3 separate regions of the Homo sapiens genome follow, and all the other regions are linked to region 1. Evidence: promoter capture Hi-C in human tissues and cell types (Jung and others, 2019). All regions are on one chromosome and are shown on one strand. The core of a region is centred on a gene start or on the middle of the fragment in contact, and the rest is flanking DNA. Distances in the headings are between cores, read along the strand shown.

Region 1 (3,938 bases), core at 942-3,441:
AATTGTACAACTGAAAATTCATACTGTTATAAAAATGCCAGGGTTTTGGTCTAGGTCCTGCAGCTCACCACCCTGAAAGCCAATCACTGAGACAATGAGAATTTCCAGGGAAGAAGGCTTTATTTGGGTGCTACAGCTGAGGAGAATGGGAGATGAGCCTTAAATTAGTCACCTCAACCAACTAAAACTAAGGGTTTGTATAGCAGGGAAGAAATGTAACTATGTGTGGGAAAACAGGAATTAGGGAGGGGTAAAGAAGAGGAGTTGGTCAACAGGAAGCAGGTGGTCACTTATGCGATCATGATAGGTGAGGAGTCTTTCATCTTATTGTCCAGATGTGGTGATCTCGTAAGTTTCCTTTCCTTGATACTGTCTGGAAGGCCTGATGTGTGGTTTCCTGAGAAAGGAACCCAGATAAGACAAATGTAACTTTCTCAAGTTTTAAGATGGGAGTCTCAATTTTTATGTTTATTCAAAAGAAACCATAAACAGCAGTTCTATGAGTAATTAGGCTGGTTCCATACCATATTTTTATTTATATTTAGTTATTTATTTAATTTTTTTATTTCCATAGATTTTTGGTGAACAGGTGCATACTGTATTTTTATTTTATTTATTTATTTATTTATTTATTTTTTGAGAAAAGCCAGCATAAAGCACTTTTATTGCAATAATAAAACTTGAGACTCATATATGGTGCTAGGGGAAGGGGGCAGCAACGATTCCTCTCACCAAATCACTACACAGGACAGCAAAGGGGTGAGAAGTGGCTGAGGGAGGAAAAGCCAGGAAACTCTGAGATCAGCAGAGGGAGCCAAGCATCAAAAAACAGGAGATGCTGAAGCTGGGATGACCAGCATCATTTTCTTAAGAGAACATTCAAGGATTTGTCATGATGGCTGGGCTTTCACTGGGTGTTAAGTCTACAAACAGCACCTTCAATTGAAACTGTCAATTAAAGTTCTTAAGATTTAGGAAGTGGTGGAGCTTGGAAAGTTATGAGATTACAAAATTCCTGAAAGTCCGTTAGAAAAACCACAGGATGAAAAAAAAAAAAAAAAAAATAAGGCCACAAAGAAGGCTTCAGAGGTCCCTGCTGGCCCAGGGACAGATACCTGTAGTGTCCAGCATCGCAGTGAACATGACCTGCTTTCAAAGGCAGAGGGTTTAAGGGGAGGGTGGGGTGGGAATGGTGGAGGCAAAGCCTCTCCCCATCCCCACCTCAGTTTTAGGTAGGGCTTTTAATTTAACCCAAGGACATCTCTCAACTTGGAGAATAATTCAGTCCTCAACAGTGCCTCAAATCTGCTATGGTTTTGCAGCGCAGCAGCAAGAATGTTTAATATATAATAGATAAAAATTTCATCCAAAAAATTAAAATAAAATATTCTTGCAACCCCCTCAACACCAATTCCTATCCTAACGTTAACTTATCACTTGTGCTGTTAACACTTGACCATGTACTTAATTGGAAACCTATATTCAAAAGACTGAAACTGAATCTTCACCCCAAAATGAAAAAGTAAAATGAATAACTTGACGTTTATGGCATATAGTTTAGGTAAACGCACATACCAGGAGAAAGGGGAAGAGGAAACAGAGGTGTCGGAAGCAAAGCTGAGTGACAGAACACATTCAGTTGGGGCAGATGTCTATACAAAGTGGAGTGGAACATCAGGAAAAGCTCCATATGGATTTATGTGCACACGTCTGGAGGCACCAGATCCCTCCATGGCAGATCCAAGAACAGGGAGCTAAGGGAGGAGGCCATTCCTGTCATTCCAGTTTTAGAAGCTCCACATCGAAGACGAGAGTGGCATGTGGTGGGATGATGCCTGGGTGCCCAGTGGCACCATAGGCATAATCTGGAGATATAGTCAGTTTGGCTCTCTGACCCACACTCATCTGGACAACCCCTTCTTCCCAGCCTCGGATCACCTCCTGCTTGCCTAGCATAAACTTAAAGGGCTTGTTTCTGTCCCGGGAGGAATCAAATTTCTTTCCATCTTCAAGCATCCCGGTGTAGTGCATCACGCAGGTCTGGCTGCGCTTCGGGAAGGTGCGCCAGTCTCCTGGGGAGATGGTTTCCACGTGCACTCCCATGGCGGCGGCCGACGCCGAGCGGGCGGGCAGCGCGACGGGCGGCGTGGACCGACAGCGACCTGGCGGCGGTTCCACGGCTCTGCCTAGTCCCTCAGCGCGTTGCCTGCCCATACTGTATTTTTAAAATCTACAAATTCTATATTAGTGCCTTCTGGGCAAGTGTGTTGAATGAGTCACTTAAAAATCTCTAAATAGGTTTTTTTTTTTTTTTCCCGTACTGGAAGTGTTACCATTTCCTTGTTAACTTTGTTAACTTTGTGTTTGGTCTCCCATTATCTGTGGCGGCTACGTTCCAAGATCCCCAGTGGGTGCCTGAAACCACAGAACCACAGATAGTACAGAACCCTATATATACTATATTTTTTCCTGTACATACATACCTATGATAAAATTTAATTTATAAATTAGGCACAGCAAGAGACTAAAAACAATGACTAATAATAAAATAGAACAGTTATAACAATATAAAAGCATCATTACTCTTGCACTTTGAGGCCATTATGAAGTAAAATAAGGGGTACATATTAAACACAAGCTCTGAGCTACCTTACAATTGATCTGATAACCAAGACAGCTACTGAGTGACTAACAGACAGGGAGGGTATACAGTGTGGAGATGGTGGACAATGGGATAATTCACGTCTCAGTCAGGTGAGAGTGGAACGGGATGGCTCGAGATTTCTTCACACTACTCAGAATGGTGTGCAATTTAAAACTTATGAATTGTTTATTTCTGAAGCTTTCAATTTAATATTTGCAGACCACTATTGACCATGGGTAACTGAAACTGCAGAAAGCAAAACTGTGGATAAGGGATACTATTGTATATATCTGGAGTTTGATTTAAAGGTCTAAAACAGATCTCTAAAACTTTTGCTCAAATGAATTAACTGTTGTCCATCTAAATAGTATGCTACGATTAGCGTAGCCACTATTGTCAGGTTTCTGCCAGAAGTATCAGTGTAGAGAGATATTTTAAAGAAAAAAGGAAGGATGTATATATTTGAAAGTTGTCCAGTACTTTGCATATAAACTCACAGTTATATTTTTCTTTCTGTGTGTTCTATTATGTTCATGTTAACTTAGAAAGAAATATGCTTTGAGTCTGGTTTACAAAGAACGATATAGATTCAGTAGTCTAAACTTAATGATTTACATACAGCTTTTTTAGTGATAGAAAACACTAGGTAAGTTAAGAAAGTTTAAGAGAAGCTGCTATTGTTCTTGAAAGCATGTATATTTAACTCTTTCTATGTGAAAAGAATGTTTTTGCATTCTTTGTTGCTGTAGATGTTATGTGTATATACCTTTTACTTTTGTAATTTTTAAAAAACAGTGGAATTATAAATTTCTTATCAACTTGTCTTTAGGTTAAATACATTTAGTGTAGCCTCTGCTTGCCATTAGGGCTAAGAACCTAACTACATTTGAAATAGAACCATAGTCGACTTACACTGCAAAAATTTTTTATTAGAATTCTTCTGATAATACTTCACACATTTCATAGCCATCTATATGCTAATATTTCCAACAAATTATCAGATGCTATTTCTACATAACCCTTTTCTCAACAAATGACCTGTCATGTTCATAATGGCCTCATTTTTTGGTGGCAGTTTTAATTTTATCTAGCAAAAAATTGAAAGCTCACAAAGAAACTAATTATATAGTTTCACAGTTAATAATATGGTTTCTAGTTTTAAGACTTGTAATGTGCAAATTTATCTAGTTAAGTTTTCTAAGAGTCGAGGCTGCTGTTTCTTCTTTTAAAATCATTTACAAACCCTTTTTGAAGGAAAGTAGAAATTTTCATACTGTGGTCTTACAAGGATTGA
Region 2 (3,938 bases), core at 481-2,980, 130 kb after region 1:
GACTTCTGCCTTCATCCCTGGACTTTCCTGGTTTTTTCACCAAGGAGATGGGTCTTGTTTTCCACAATGATACACTAATATTTCAAAGGTTTATCTTGCTGATGCTTCCTAGATCTTCCACCTCTGCCCTCCTGCTCCTTTCCTGTCTGCAAACTCTGCTTCTCCCAGTGCTTAGGCAATCCCTATTCAAGACAGCCTGCACAGAGTCCTTCCTTTTTGTATTTAGGGCACGTACAGGATCTGCCACCAGCAGACCACCAGATGCTGAGAGGTGAAGCTAGCTGGACTTCTGGGTTGGGTGGGGACTTGGAGAACTTTTCTGTCTTACAAGAGGATTATAAAATGCACTAATCAGCACTCTGTAAAAATGCACCAATCAGTGCTCTGTGGCTAGAGGTTTGTAAAATAGACCAATCAGCACACTGTAAATTGGACGAATAAGTGCTCTGTAAAATGAACCAATCAGCAGGACATGGGCAGGGACAAATAAGGGAATAAAAGCTGGCCACCCCAGCCAGCAGTGGCAACCCTCTTGTCCCCTTCCACACTATGGAAGCTTTGTTCTTTAGCTCTTCACAATAAATCTTGCTGCTGCTCACTCTTCAGGTCCATGCCATCTTTAAGAGCTGTAACACTCACTGCAAAGGTCCATGGCTCCATTCTTGAAGTCAGTGAGACCACGAACCCACCAGAAGGAACCAACTCCAGACACATCTTGGGGGCTCATCTGGAATATTTCCAAGTGGTGAGTACAATTGGACCCATTTTGCTTGCTATTTTCTCCTATTTTTCCTCAGAATTTGGGGGCTAAACACCGGGCACCTATCAGCCGGCTAAAAATGACTAGCATGGCTGCAGGACTAAAGACATGGGTGTCAGGCTTTCTGGGAAAGAGCTCTCTAACTATTCCTGACTCTTCGGAGTTGGTAGCATTGGTTTGCCTGGAAACAGCTTAAACTTTTCCTGTACTTCTGGGCTGAACTGAGTGTCAACAGAAAGGAAAGCCATTCAGCTCCAGGGTCCTGATAAAATGTTGGTTGACCCTATAGCCATGAGCAGAGCTCTCAAAGTCAAGTCATCTAAGCAAGACTTGCCCATCTATCCTATCTAACTTGACCCTTGCCTCCTGGGTCCTAATGCTTTTCAGACAAATTTCCTCCTGCCTCTCTTTTCCGAGGCTAGTCCCGCTTCTAAAAACCACTCCCTGTCTCTGGTGCTTTTCTAGTTTCTCCTATAAGAATGATTTCTAGTATAAATTTTGGGACTCTATTCCTTTCTTTAGGCACCCAGGCTCACCAATCAGAAAGACTTAGTTTTTGCCCAAAGCCCCACTGGGAGTTGGGGGAGACTATCTGGAATTTTAGGATCCCTCCTCAGACTAGCAGGCCTAACAAAGGCTATTTCTGAAGCTAGGATATGGGGAGCCTCAGAAATGATATCCTTCCTATTCATGTGATGAGAAGTGAGGACAAAAGGTGTCACTCTTCCAAGGGAAGATCCCTTGGAATCCTGAAGGGATCCTGGAGATCCCTTCCCTCCCTTAGGGTGTGGCCCTCCACTCCATTTTTGGGGCATATCATCTTTATAGGACAGAGGTAAGGTCCCAATACTAACAGGAGAAAATGCTTGGGACTCTAATAGGTTTTTGAGAATGTGTTGGTAAGGACCACTAAATCTGATTTTTCTTGGTCCTCTTTGTGGTCTGAGAGGAAAGGCAAGGGTGCAGATTTTTGAGAATGTGTCGGTAAGGGCCACTAAATCCCACCTTCCTTGGTCCTCTTTGTGGTCTACGAGGAAAACCAGTGTTTCTGCTGCTGCTTCAGTGAGCACAACTATTCTGAATAGCAGGGTCCAGGGACCATTGTGGGTTCTAGGGCCAGTGAGGGGGAGACAAACAAACCAAAATGGTGGGCAGTTTTTTCTTTCAGATGGGAAACACTCAGGCATCAACAGGCTCACCCTTGAAATGCATCCTAAGCCATTGGGACCAATTTGACCCACAAACTCTGAAAAAGATATGGCTCATTTTTCTCTGCACTACGTCCTGGCCCCAATATTCTCTCTGATGTGAAAAAATGGTCGCCTGAGGGAAGTATAAATTACAATACTATCCTGCAGCTTAACCTTTTCTGTAAGTGGGAAGGCAAATGGAGTGAAATACCTCATGTCCAAGCTTTCTTTTATTGAAGGATAATCCACAACTATGCAAACTTGCAATTTACATCCCACAGGAGGAACTCTCAACTTACCTCCATATCCTAGCCTCCTTACAGATCCCCTTCCTATTAATGATAAGGCTCCTCTAGTCTCCCCACCCAGAAGGAAACAAGCAAATAAATCTCCAAGGGACCACAAAAACCCCTGGGCTATTGGTTATGTCCCCTTCAAGCTGTAGGGGGAGGGGAATTTGGCCCAACCCAGGTACATGTCCCCTTCTCCCTCTCTGATTTAAAGCAGATCAAGGCAGACCTGGGGAAGTTTTCAGATGATCCTGATAGGTACATAGATATCCTACAGGGTCTAGGGCAAACCTTTGACCTCATTTGGAGAGATGTCATGATATTGTTAGATCAAACCCTGGCCTTTAATGAAAAGAATGTGACTTTAGCTGCAGCCTGAGAGCTTGGAGATATTTGATATCTTAGTCAAGTAAATGATAGAATTACAGCCAAAGAAAGGGACAAATTCCCTACCAGTCAGCAAGCCATCTGCAGTATGAATCCCCACTGGGACCTAGACTCGGATCATGGGGACTAGAGTCATAAACATATGTTGACTTTTGTTCTAGAAGGACTAAGGAGAATTATGAAAAAGCCCATGAATTAGTCAATGATGTCCACCATAACTCAGGGAAAGGAAGAAAATCTTTCCGCCTTCCTTGAGCAGCTATGGGGGGCCCTAAGAAAATATACTCCCCTGACACCTGACTCCCTCAAAGGTCAATTGATCCTAAAAGGTAAGTTTATTACCCAGTCAGCCACAGATATCAGGAGAAAGCTCCAAAAGTGAGTCCTGGGCCATGAACAAAATCTGGAGGCATTATTAAACCTGGCAACCTCAGTGTTCTATAGTAGGGACCAAGAAGAATAGGCCAAAAAGAAAACAATATCAGAGAAAGGCTGCAGCCTTATTCATGGTCCTCAGACAAACAAACCTTGGTGGCTCAAAGAGGACAGAGAATGGAGCAGGCCAACCACCTGGTGGGGCTTGTTATCAGTGTGGTTTGCAATGACACTTTAAAAAAGATTGTCCAATGATAAGCAAGCTGACCCCTCATCCATGTCCACTATACCGAGGCAATCACTGGAAGGCACACTGCCCCAGAGGTCAAAGGTTCTCTGGGCCAGAAGCCCCAACCAGATGATCCAACAACAGAACTGAGGGTGCCTGGGGCAAGCACCAACTCATGTCCTCACCCTCACTGAGCCCTGGTACATTTAACCAATGAGGGCCAGGAAATTGACTTCTTCCTGGACACTGGCATGGCTTTCTCAGTGTTAGTCTCCTGTTCCTGACAGCTGTCCTGTAGGTCCATTACCATCCACGGAATCCTGGGACAGCCTGTAACCAGGTATTTCTCCCACCTCCTTAGTTGTAACTGGGAGACTTTGCTCTTTTCACATGCCTTTCTTGTTATGCTTGAAAGTCCCACACCCTTATTAGGGAGGGACATATTAGCCAAAGCTGGAGCTATTATCTGCATGAATATGGGGAACAAGTTACCCATTTGTTGTCTCCTGCTTGAGGAGGGAATCAACCCTGAAGTCTGGGCACTGGAAGGACAATTCAGAAGGGAAAAAAAGTGTCCACCCAGTCCAAATCAGAATAAAAGACCCCACCACTTTTCCTTATCAAAGGCAATATCCCTTAAAGCCTGAAGCTCATAAAGGATTACAGGGTATTGTTAGACATTTAAAAGCTCAAGGCTTAGTAAGAAA
Region 3 (3,938 bases), core at 494-2,993, 80 kb after region 1:
CCACGTGACCAGCTGCAAAAATGAGGACTGTAATTGTCATGAGTATTTCCTCCTTCTTTTGTTAAAAACGTGTTTGTGAATACATACACTTGTACTAAGAAAATATCTTCATTTTATTTTTTTCTTTATCATATGACATAAGATTTATTGACTTCATATCAATACTTAAGTGTTGTTAACTTTATATAATAGTATTTCGGTTGGGGATTGATGCATTTCTGGTTGTACCAAGGATAGCTGCATTATGTTAGGCATAATTATAACCTTATTATTGTCTTTATTTGAAGACTATGTATGATCTCAGGAGATGTGTATGGGTTCAAGTTGACAAGGGGTGGACTTGTGATGGTTAATACTGAGTGTCAACTTGTTAGATTGAAGGGTACAAAGTATTGCTCCTGGGTGTGTCTGTGAGGGTGTTGCCAAAGGAGATTAACATTTGAGTCAGTGAGGTGGGAAAGGAAGACCCACCCTTAATCTGGGTGGGCACCATCTAATCAGCTGACAATGTGGTTAGAATATAAAAAGCAGGAAGAAAAAAGTGAAAGGTCTAGACTGGCCTAGCCTTCCAGCCTACATCTTTGTCCCATGCTGGATGCTTCCTGCCTTCGAACATCAGACTTTAAGTTCTTCAGTTCTAGGACTCGGATTGGCTCTACTTGTTTCTCAGCTTGCAGACTGCCTATTGTGGGACCTTGTGAACATGTGTGTTAATATTTAATAAACTCCCCCATATATATACACACATATATGTGTGTGTATATATACATATATATACACACACACACATTATACATATACTCTGTCTATATATAAAGTATATATATATATACTATTAGTACAATAGTATATTATATACATACACAAACACACATATAATACATATATTAGTTCTGTCCCTCTAGAGAACCCTGACTAAGGCACCTTATTTGAAAATAGGGCCTTTACAGAGGCAATCAAGTTAAATGAGGTTATCAAGTTAAAATGAAGTCATTAGAGTGGGGTCTCATTTAAAACAACTGGTTTCCCTAGGAAATTTGTACTCATAAATATAAACAGAAGGAAACCAACATGTGAAATAAAAGCAGAGAACAGAGTAATAAATCTTTAAGATATGGAATGCCAGAAACGATCAGAAAACTATCATAAGTTAGGAGAGAGACACAGAACAGATTTTCCCTCACAGTACTCAGAGGGAACCAACCCTGCTGACATATTTTAATCTTGAACTTCTATCCTCCACAACTGTGACACAATATATCTCTGTTGTTGAGGCCAACCAGTTTGTGACAGTTTGTTGTGGCAGCTCTAGCAAAAAAATACAGCATGTATTTATATATTTTATATAAACTAAGCTTGTTTTATGTGTTATTGTTTATTTCCCTTTAAATTAGAGAAAATTAATGCAGTGCTTTTTAAACTTTAGTGTGAAAAATTTATTTCATGGCCATATCAAAACAACTCAATTTGGCTGATTTCACTGAAAAAATAATGATTTAAGCCAATATAATGAATTTACTCTCCTATTGACATAATCTGTGAAAAAAAATTGATCATTTAAAAACAAACTACCTCATATTTTCCATAATTTTATTTTGTTATTTTTTGTCTCAAGACATAAAGTTGGAATAGATATTAAATTCTTTAATTGAAATGCACATGTATTGTGTGCTTTATTAAAGGTGTAAAACTGGGCATGCCCAAATGGCCATGAAGAAATTGGAAACAATCATGGTTATGTTTATCACACCATTAATATCATACTTTAATGCCACTATTAATGAAAACTGTAGTTTTATTTGGTAATATTTAGGGTTATGAGAAGAAGAAAGAGATGGTTGCTTAGATACGGCTAATTTGAAGTGATTATTTTAAAATTATATTAAAAAATGTAGATAATAGGAATTAATACCTTAGTTTTCTGAATGTAAAAACAGTTGTGTCTTAAGAATAGTTGACCTTCTAAACAAGTGTTTCTGCAGTTTTTCTCTCACAAACCATTAGCTTTAATAGTTGCTACTTTGAAAAATTATGAATCGTCATACCCTACTGGGTTGATTTTTTTTGGTAAGAACTAATTTTATAAATATATAACTTTGGCCTTATGTAAGATAAATGAACTTTATTGAAAATGTAATACCCATGGGAATATAACTCCATTAGCTTGGGAATTATACCCCCAGCCCCCACAGCAGCTGCAGCAAGCCCTGCCCAAGGAAAGTCTGGGCTCAGACATGCCTATCTCTGCTTCCACCTGGTATTCTTTCTCCACCCACCTTGTTTGCTGAAGACAAAGGACATCATTTCTTGGGAGGTCCGTGGCTCTTCCCACCACCTGAGAAATCTGAATACTTAACCAGTTGACCCTAGGGCAAGTTTGCATCCTCCTTATAGTACCACACCTGATGGGCTCTTGAAAGCACCACCTCCTGGCTAGTGACCAACCAACACAAAACCAGCATACTAAACAAAAAAATACAACCAAGGACCCTCACGGATTCCACTTTACTACCCAGCTGCCTCCACTGGAACAGGTGCTGGTATCCATGGCTGCAAGATTTGAAGACAGATCACATCACGGGACTCTTTGAAGATAATTTCCAGTACCAGCCTGGAGGCCGGTAGCTCTGCTGGGTGGCTAGAGGAGCAAAAACAATCACTGTAGTTTGGCCCTCAGGAAGCTCCATCCTTAGGGGAAGAGGGAGAACACATCAAGGGAGCACCCCATGGGACAAAAGAATTTGAACAGCAGCCCTTGAGTCCCAGCTCTTCCTTGTGACCTAGTCTACCCAAATGAGAAGAAACCAGAAAAGCAATTCTGGTAATATGACAAAACAAGGTTATTTAACACCCCCAAAAGATCACACCAGCAATGGATCTAAGCCAAGACAAAATCACTGAATTGACAGAAAAGGATTTCAGAAGGTTGATTATTATGCTAATCAAGGAGGCACAAGAGAAAGGGAAGTTCAACTTAAATAAATAAAAAACATGATATAGGATATAAAAGGAAAATTATTCAGTGAAATAGAGAGCATAAATAAAAAAATCACAATGTCTGGAAATCAAGGACACGGAGAAATGCAAAATGCACTGGAAATTCTCAGCAAAAGAATCAAACAAGCAGAAGAAAGAACTTCAGAACTCAAAGACAAGGCTTTTGAATTAACCCAATCCCTCAAACAAAATAAAAAATAATAAAAAAAATGAACAAAGCTTCCAAGAAATTTGGAACTATGTGAAACATCCTAACCTAAGAATAATTGGTGCTCCCAAGCAAGAAGATAAATCTGAAAGTTTGGATAACATATATAAGAGAATAATCAAGGAAAACTTCCCCATTCTTGCTAGAAATCTAGACATCCGAATACAAGAAGCTCAAAGAACACCTGGGAAATTCATCATAAGATCATCACCTAGGCACATAGTCATTAGGTTATCTAAAGTCAAGACAAAGGAAATAATCTTAAGAGCTGTGAGGCAAAAGCATCAGGAAACCTATAAAGAAAAACCTATCAGATTAACTGCAGATTTCTCAGCAGAAACCCTACCAGCTGGAAGGGATTGGGGCCCTATTTTTAGCCCCCTCAAGCAAAACAATTATCAGCTAAGGATTTTGTTTCCAGTGAAACGAAGACTCACAAATGAAGAAAAGATGCAGTCTTTTCCAGACAAACAAATGCTGAGAGAATTCGCCACTACCAAGCCAGCACTATAAGAACTGCTAAGAGGAGCTCTAGATTTTGAAATAAATTCTCAAAATACACAAAAATAGAACCTTCTTAATGAATAAATCTCACAGGACCTATAAAACAATAACACAACAGAATAAACAAGGTATTCAAGCAACAAATAGCATGATGAATAGAATATTACCTCATATCTCAATGCTAATGTTGAATGAGAATTCACCAATCAACTTTCTGCTGTCTCAGGAG

The links. Contacts are between HindIII fragments. The study calls those that stand out against the background at their distance.
Region 2: a fragment that was not itself captured here is called in contact with the fragment with the promoter of FKBP1C in region 1 in 2 of the 25 tissues and cell types used here (adrenal gland and thymus).
Region 3: a fragment that was not itself captured here is called in contact with the fragment with the promoter of FKBP1C in region 1 in 7 of the 25 tissues and cell types used here (H1 embryonic stem cells, dorsolateral prefrontal cortex, lymphoblastoid cells and 4 more).

What each region holds. Positions count from the first base shown.
Region 1 is chr6:63,209,722-63,213,659 of GRCh38, reverse strand. FKBP1C (FKBP prolyl isomerase family member 1C) reads right to left here and starts at 2,191. Exons shown (of 1, transcript NM_001395980.1): 1 at 633-2,191. The coding sequence starts at 2,103. The coding sequence ends at 1,777. The HindIII fragment of the contact is 10,095 bases long and covers 1-3,938 here.
Region 2 is chr6:63,083,073-63,087,010 of GRCh38, reverse strand. No RefSeq gene overlaps it. Among named protein-coding and RNA genes, the nearest start is that of FKBP1C, 130 kb to the left of the region's middle. RefSeq lists a silencer at 492-698. The HindIII fragment of the contact is 4,926 bases long and covers 1-3,938 here.
Region 3 is chr6:63,129,145-63,133,082 of GRCh38, reverse strand. No RefSeq gene overlaps it. Among named protein-coding and RNA genes, the nearest start is that of FKBP1C, 80 kb to the left of the region's middle. The HindIII fragment of the contact is 6,731 bases long and covers 1-3,938 here.